2 separate regions of the Homo sapiens genome follow, and region 1 is linked to region 2. The links are contacts of gene promoters, found by promoter capture Hi-C in blood cells and fetal thymus (Javierre and others, 2016). All regions are on one chromosome and are shown on one strand. The core of a region is centred on a gene start or on the middle of the fragment in contact, and the rest is flanking DNA. Distances in the headings are between cores, read along the strand shown.

Region 1 (3,506 bases), core at 647-3,146, 520 kb after region 2:
GAATGGGAATTGACTAGGAAGGGGCATAAGGCAACTTTCTTTCTTTTCTTTTCTTTTTTTTTTTTTGAGACAGAATCTCACTCTGTCGCCAGGCTGGAGTACAGCGGCAGAATCTCAGCTCACTGCAATCTTTGACTCCCTGGTTCAAGCGCTTCTCCTGCCTGAGCCTCCCTAGTAGCTGGGATTATGGGCACATGCCACCATGCCCAGCTAATTTTTGTATTTTTAGTAGAGACGGGGTTTCACCATATTGGCCAGGATGGTCTCGAACTCCTGACCTCGTGATCTGCCTGCCTCAGCCTCCCAAACTACTGGGATTACAGGCATGAGCCACTGTACCCAGCCACATGAGGCAACTTTCTAGGATGATGGTAATGTTATGTATTTGGATAGGGGTTTCAGTTACAGATGTATACGTCTTTGTCAACACTCAGCAAATATACACTTAAAGTTTGTGCATTTTATGTACTTTTAACTCAAAAAATATATAAAACAAACGTGGAGCTCTAGTTAATGATATGCATGTTGAAATGTTTACGGGTGAAGTGTACTGATTTCAGCAATTTTTTTTACATGCACCCAAAAACAAAGTGTACTGGTAGAGTAACTGATAGTTACATGATAAAGCAGATACACTAAATGTTAGTGATAGAATCTAGGTGGTGAGTATATGGGTATTCTCTGTAAAAGTCCTTCAACTTTACTGTGTCTTTCAAAACTTTTAAAATGAATGGTGGCTGGGTGCAGTGGCTCACACCTGTACTCCTAGCACTTTGGGAGTCTGAGGCAGGTGGATCGCCTAAGGTCAGGAGTTTGAGACCAGCCTGGCCAACATTGTGAAACTCCATCTCTACTAAAAATACAAAAATTAGCTGGGCATGGTAGCTCATGCCTGTAATCCCAGCTACTCTGGGAGGCTGAGGCCCGAGAATCGCTTGAACCTGGGAAGTGAAGGTTGTAGTGAGCCAAGATCGCACCATTGCACTCCAGCCTGGGCAATGGAGTGAGACTTCATCTCAAAAGAAAAAAAAAAGCAAAACCACTATTGAGAATGAAAAGACACTCCACAGAATGGGAGAAAATATTTGTAAATCATGTGTCTAATAAGGGATTAATATTCAGAATTTATAAATAACTCCGGTAACTCAACAACCACTAAAAAATAAAAACCCAATTTAAAAGCAGGCAAAGAGGCTGGGCACGGTGGCTCACACTGTCATCCCAGCACTTTGGGAGGCCAAGACAGGCAGATCACTTGAGGCCAGAAATTCGAGACCAGCCTAGCCAACAGAGATGATGAAACTCCATTTCTGCTAAAAATACAAAAATTAGCCGGCATTGTGGCACAGACCTGTAATCCCAGCTACTCAGGAGGCTAAGGCATGAAAATCACTTGAGCCTGGGAGGTGGAGGGTGCAGTGAGCCAAAATGGCACCACAGCATTCCAACCTGGGCAACAGAGCAAGACACCACTCAAAAAAAGAATTAAAAAAAAAAAAGATGAAAGCAGGCATAGGATTTATATAGACATTTCTCCAAAGAAGATATACAGATGAGCTGGGCGTGGTGACTCACGCCTGTAATCCCAGCACTTTGGGAGGCTGAGGCAGGTGAATCACCTGAGATCAGGAGTTCAAGACCAGCCTGGCCAACATGGTGAAACCCCATCTCTACTAAAAATACAAAAAAAAAAAAAAATTAGCCGGGCGTGGTGGCGCACGCCTGTAATCCTAGCTACTTGGGAGGCTGAGGCAGGAGAATTGCTTGAACCTAGGAGACAGAGGTTGCAGTGAGCCGAGATCTTGCCGTTGCACTCCAGCCTGGGCAACAGAGTAAGACTCTATCTCAAAAATAATAAATGAATAAACACACAAACAAACAAATAATAAATAATTATCACTTTTTTGCATTTTCCCAATTTCTTTACTGATTATTTTTGGGATTTGGAAAAAACATAAGGCCGGGCGAGGTGGCCCACACCTGTAATCCCAGCACTCTAGGAAGCCAAGGCAGGAGGATTGCTTGAGCCCAGGAGTTCGAGACCAGCCTGGGCAACATGGAGAAACCTCATCCCTACAAAGAATACAAAAAAATTAGTTGGGTGTGGTGGCACATGCCTGTGGTCCCAACTACTCAGGAGGCTGAAGCAGGAGGATCACTTGAGCTCAGGGAAGTAGAAGCTGCAGTGAGCCATGATCACACAACTGCACTCCAGCCTGGGCCACAGAGCAAGACTCTTTCTTGCTGGGAAGGAATTCTCACATGTACGCACTAGCAGAAGCCACAAGCGGCACCAGGAAGACTAGAAGAATGCGGGGCATGAAAGCTAAGTTACAAGAGAGCTTAAGTAGGAAAACTAAGGTATGTAAGATAAAAATTGAAGCACTGATTTGTTAACTAGGTCATCAGTTATCTTAAAGGACAGTCTTAGAATAATTGCATGGCAGCTGACTTTACAGTCACCCAGATATGTGATCCTGGACAAGTTATTTATTTTTTTTTAAATTTTTTGAGATGGAGTTTTGCTCTTGTTGCCCAGGCTGGAGTGCAATGGCGCAATCTCGGCTCATTGCAACCTTTGCCTCCCGGGTTCAAGTGATTCTCCTGCCTCAGCCTCCCAAGTAGTTGAGATTACAGGCATGTGCCACCATGCCTGGCTATGTTTTTGCATTTAGTAGAGACGGGATTTCACCATGTTGGTCAGACCGGTCTCGAACTCCTGACCTCAGGTGATCCACCCGCCTCGGCCTCCCAAAGTGCTGGGATTATAGGCGTGCACCCTGTGCCCGGTCGACAAGCTATTTAATGTCACTGTGCCTCTGTTTCCTCATCTGGTCAAGGAAAACAATACCTACAGTCAGATCTGGAATTTGAGGCTGCCCTACTTATAGGTTAATAAATGGGTCTGTTATTGTTTCATGGATGCTGTCAGAAAACAGAGACAAAAGACCTTACTGTTCAGGGCACAACAAGCAGCATGAGCATGCCTGCATTGGTTCCCTTCTGCCCCCTGCAGGGGCAATGTGGGATGTGCCCAGATGGATGCTAGACACACAGTGAGTTGCATCATAGGGGAGGAACAGGAAGCTCCTGCTGTTTTTTTCCTTTTTAAAGATGGGATTTGGCTGGGAGCGGTGGCTCACGCCTGTAATCCCAGCACTTTGGGAGGCCAAGGCAGGCAGATCACCTGAGGTCAGGAGTTCGAGACCAGCCTGACCAACATGGTGAAACCCTGTCTCTACAAAAATACTAAAATTAGCTGGGCATGGTGGCAGGTGAGTGTAATCCCAGCTACTTGGGAGGCTGAGGCAGGAAAGTTGCTTGAACCCAGGAGGTGGAGGTTGCAGTGAGCCAAGATCACGCCACTGCACTCCAGCCTGGGTGACAAGAGTGAGACTCCTTCTCTAAATAAATACATAAATAAATAAGATGGGGTCTTGCTATGTTGGCCAGGGTAGTCTCAAACTCCTGGCCTCAAGCAATCCTCCTGCCTTGGCCACCAAAAG
Region 2 (3,706 bases), core at 504-3,003:
GCTGAGGCAGGAGAATTGCTTGAACCCAGGAGGCGGAGGTTGCGGTTTGCCAAAATCGCTCCACTGCACTCCCGCCTGGGCGACAAGAGCAAGGAAGGCTCTGTCTTAAAAAAATAAATAAATGAAAATACAAAAATTAGCCAGGCGTCGTGGCACATGCCTGTAATCCCAGCTACTTGGGAGGCTGAGGCAGGAGAATCGCTTGAACCTGGGAGGCGGAGGTTGCAGTGAGCCGAGATTGTGCCACTGCACTCCAGTCGGGGTGAAAAAGCAAGACTCCGTCTCAAAAAAAAAAAAAAAAAAAAAAAAAGAGGCCGGGCACGGTGGTACACGCCTGTGGTACAGCACTTTGGGAGGCTGAGGCAGGTGGATCATGAGGTCAGGAGATCGAGACCATCCTGGCTAACACGGTGAAACCCCGTCTCCACTAAAAAATACAAAAAAATTAGCCGGGCCTGGTGGCGGGCGCCTGTAGTCCCAGCTATTCAGGAGGCAGAGGCAAGAGAATGGCGTGAACCCGGGAGGCGGAGCTTGCAGTGAGCCGAGATGGCGCCACTGGACTGCAGCCTGGGCGACAGAGCGAGAGAGTGAGACTCTGTCTCAAAAAGAAAAACGGAAGCAACTAAGAAATGTCAAGAGTGCCATTTTGGAATCAGAGAAGTCATGCTGACTGAGGCACAGGCTTGGCGTGGGAAAAGTGGACTCCAATCTGTTAACTTCTGAAGTTGTCCACGGCAAATATTTCTCTGACGGCACAGGAAGAGATCTGAACTTGGCTTCCCTCATCCATTGAACAAGTATTAACAAGTATCTATATATGCCTACCGTGCCAGGCCTTATTCTAACCACTGGGGCTGCAATATTTAAAAAGACAAAGTTGGATCCTCCAAGGACTGTGGTGGGGAAGGCTGACAAAACAAGTAACAAAAATGTGTAACATTAAAAAAAAAGTGTAATGTTAAAAAAAAAAAGTGTAATAAAGTTACAAAGCCTAGCCCCAGCTCGGCTTGTTTCCCTAGCTGAAATGGGGGATGGCCGGGCGCGGTGGCTCACGCCTGTAATCCCAGCACTTTGGGAGGCCCGAGGCGGGAAGATAGCTTGTGCCCAGGAGTTCGAGGTCACAGTGACCTATGATAGCCCCACCGACTCCAGCCTGAGCGATAGAGCGAGACCCTGTCTCTAATTTAGAAAAAAGAAAGTTGTGGCCGGGCGCGGTGGCTCACGCCTGTAATCCCAGCACTTTGGGAGGCCGAAGGGTGGTGGTGGGTGGGGGCGCGGATCACCTGAGGTAGGGAGTTAGAGACCAGCCTGACCAACATGGAGAAACCCCGTCTCTATTAAAAATACAAAATTAGCCCAGCGTGGTAGCGCATGCCTGTAATCCCAGCTACTCAGGAGGCTGAGGCAGGAGAATTGCTGGAACCCGGGAGGCGGAAGTTGCGGTGAGCCGAGTTCGTGCCATTGCACCCCGGCCTGGGCAACAGCAAAACTCCGTCTCAAAAAAAGAAAAGACAGTTGTTTAAACATTTTTATGAAATGATATGGGAGGGGACTGGTCTAGGGTTTCTAATAGCCTCCACATCGCCCAGCGGCAGAGCCCACAAAACTGCCACTGGCCGCCACCGGGTTCCTCCACCTCCTTCCCGATCTCAGGCTGGAGAAGTGGTGCAGGGGTCGCTGCGAAAGGAGAGGAGCGTGTATGACGCCACATCCGGCGCGCGGCGGAACTGGCCTCCTTTGCTTCCGCGGCGGGGCCGGAAGTAGGAGCGGCGGCGGCGGCGGCGGCGGCGGTCGAAAGCGGAGTGAAAGAGGGAGGCAGGGAGCCGGAGAGCCGGAACCGGAGTCGCAGCGGCGGTAATAGTGCGAGACTCCTCTAAGTCACCGTCCTTAGCGCGGGACCGCGGGGTTCGACGGGAGTTAGCGGGGGTGCGGCCAGGCCGTTGGACGCCGGGGGGTCCTGGGGCCGATGTGAGGGGAGGCGGGGGTGGGGGAGCCGGGCCGGCTCTAGAATCGAGTTGTCCGCTCCGAGCCCCGGACGGACACTGATCCGCGGGCTCGTCTTGGCCTTTCCCAGGAGACCCCTGTGCGGTGCGGAGGGGGCGGCGGCCCCGACTCTGACCCGCGCCGGGGGTGGGCCATGGCGGAGATCAGCGACCTGGACCGGCAGATCGAGCAGCTGCGTCGCTGCGAGCTCATCAAGGAGAGCGAAGTCAAGGCCCTGTGCGCTAAGGCCAGGTGAGCTCGTTGGCCCTGGGGAAGGGAGGCCAAGCCGCCGCCCACGGGTTCTGGCCTGGGGCAAACCCAACTGAGAACTTTGGGCTTGCCTCGTTCTGGAAGCTTTCCCAGAGAGGAGCAGGATGGAGCCGCTGCCCTCGAGGAAAAGCTAGCCTGCTCGGGGAAGACAGAGTGGATAAAGACACTTAAAGTTTATTAGACGATGTGTTTCCAGTGGAGTAAGAGTGTTACATAAAGTACTTAGGAAACTCAAGGAAACAAGTCCATCTGTCGGGGGACGGAAGCTTGTTGGAGGGGGGCCGAACTGTGGGAGAGGCCTCGAATAAGGAGGTGGTAAAAGAGTCAGCCAAAAACCAAAAGTTTAAGACAGGAAAGTTAAAGACCCTGTGATTTATAAAAGTCTTCTAATTACAACAACCCTTAAAGATTGGTGGTATTGTACTCATTTTACAGGTGGGAACTTTCATGTTCAAAGTTACCCACAAGTAAGGAATGGGGTCTGAAGCCAGCTCTTAGTGTCCTGTCCTTTTTCAGGCCATAATGCAAAAAGGTGGAGTTGGATCATTCACGTTCAGGGTGGGAGCCTGAGAAATCGTAGCAAGTAAGCCAGGGTAGAATTAAGCACGATAGGGAGGCCAGTTCAGAGTTCTGTGGGAAGTAGGATGATGTAGTGGTTAAGGCTCTAGGTTTTGCAGTGTGAGATGGCTCTAGGTTTGAATCTGAACTCTGCCGCTTTCTAGCTGTGTTAGTAATCTTAAGTGTCTTTATTTGTAAAGCAGAATTAATAGTACTTAATAAGATGATTGTGAAGATTCAGTGAGTTGGTGCTGGAGATGAGGTTAGCACAGTGTTTTGGTACAGCATACGTGCTTGATAATCACCAGGTATTCTATTTCTTTTGGAAGAGGGCAATAATGAGATGGGCTAAAGCCATCAGGGAGGGCTTTTGAGTGGAGGTAGGCCTTGAAGGATGAAGATAATTTGGCTAGCTGATGGAGGCAGGGCCAGTGAGGGAAGGGCATTCCAAGCAGGACGAATGTAACAGTGGAGGCCCTGAGATGCGTGGGGAACAGTCAGGGGTTTAATTACCTGCCTCCTCTGGGGAACTGTGTGATTGTGGCTTCTACCAGGCTGGAGAATTGTGGCAGAAGAGCCCACAGAATTACCCTACGTTTATTGAACAGTAAACATTGGCCTTTACAGGGCCACTATTTGGCCTGGCCCGGTACTGGCAAAAAACTTCTATCCATCTCTTCCCCCCAGCAATCCTATGAGGTTGGAATCATTTGCTGCATTTTATCGAATAGGAAGCCATGACTCGTAGAGGTCTGGTGACTTAACTGAGGTCACCCACTGAGGACGTGGCAGAGCTGGGTCCTGAATCTGTGGCCCTCAGGCTCTTTGCCTGGCCCTGCCTCACATAGACTACCTGCAGCCAGACAGGGCCTGTGAGGGGATGATGAGCAGGGTC

The links. Contacts are between HindIII fragments. The CHiCAGO score rates a contact against its expected background, and 5 or more counts as called.
Region 1: a contact is called between a fragment that was not itself captured here and the fragment with the promoter of PPP4C in region 2, in 1 of 17 cell types (fetal thymus). The highest score is 6.1, in fetal thymus.

What each region holds. Positions count from the first base shown.
Region 1 is chr16:30,595,329-30,598,834 of GRCh38, forward strand. No RefSeq gene overlaps it. Among named protein-coding and RNA genes, the nearest start is that of ZNF785, 11 kb to the left of the region's middle. The HindIII fragment of the contact is 4,017 bases long and covers 1-3,506 here.
Region 2 is chr16:30,074,241-30,077,946 of GRCh38, forward strand. It overlaps PPP4C (protein phosphatase 4 catalytic subunit), which reads left to right and starts at 1,754. Exons shown (of 9, transcript NM_002720.3): 1 at 1,754-1,854; 2 at 2,075-2,235. The coding sequence starts at 2,138. RefSeq lists enhancers at 476-655, 2,278-2,367 and a silencer at 2,028-2,167. The HindIII fragment of the contact is 10,067 bases long and covers 1-2,335 here.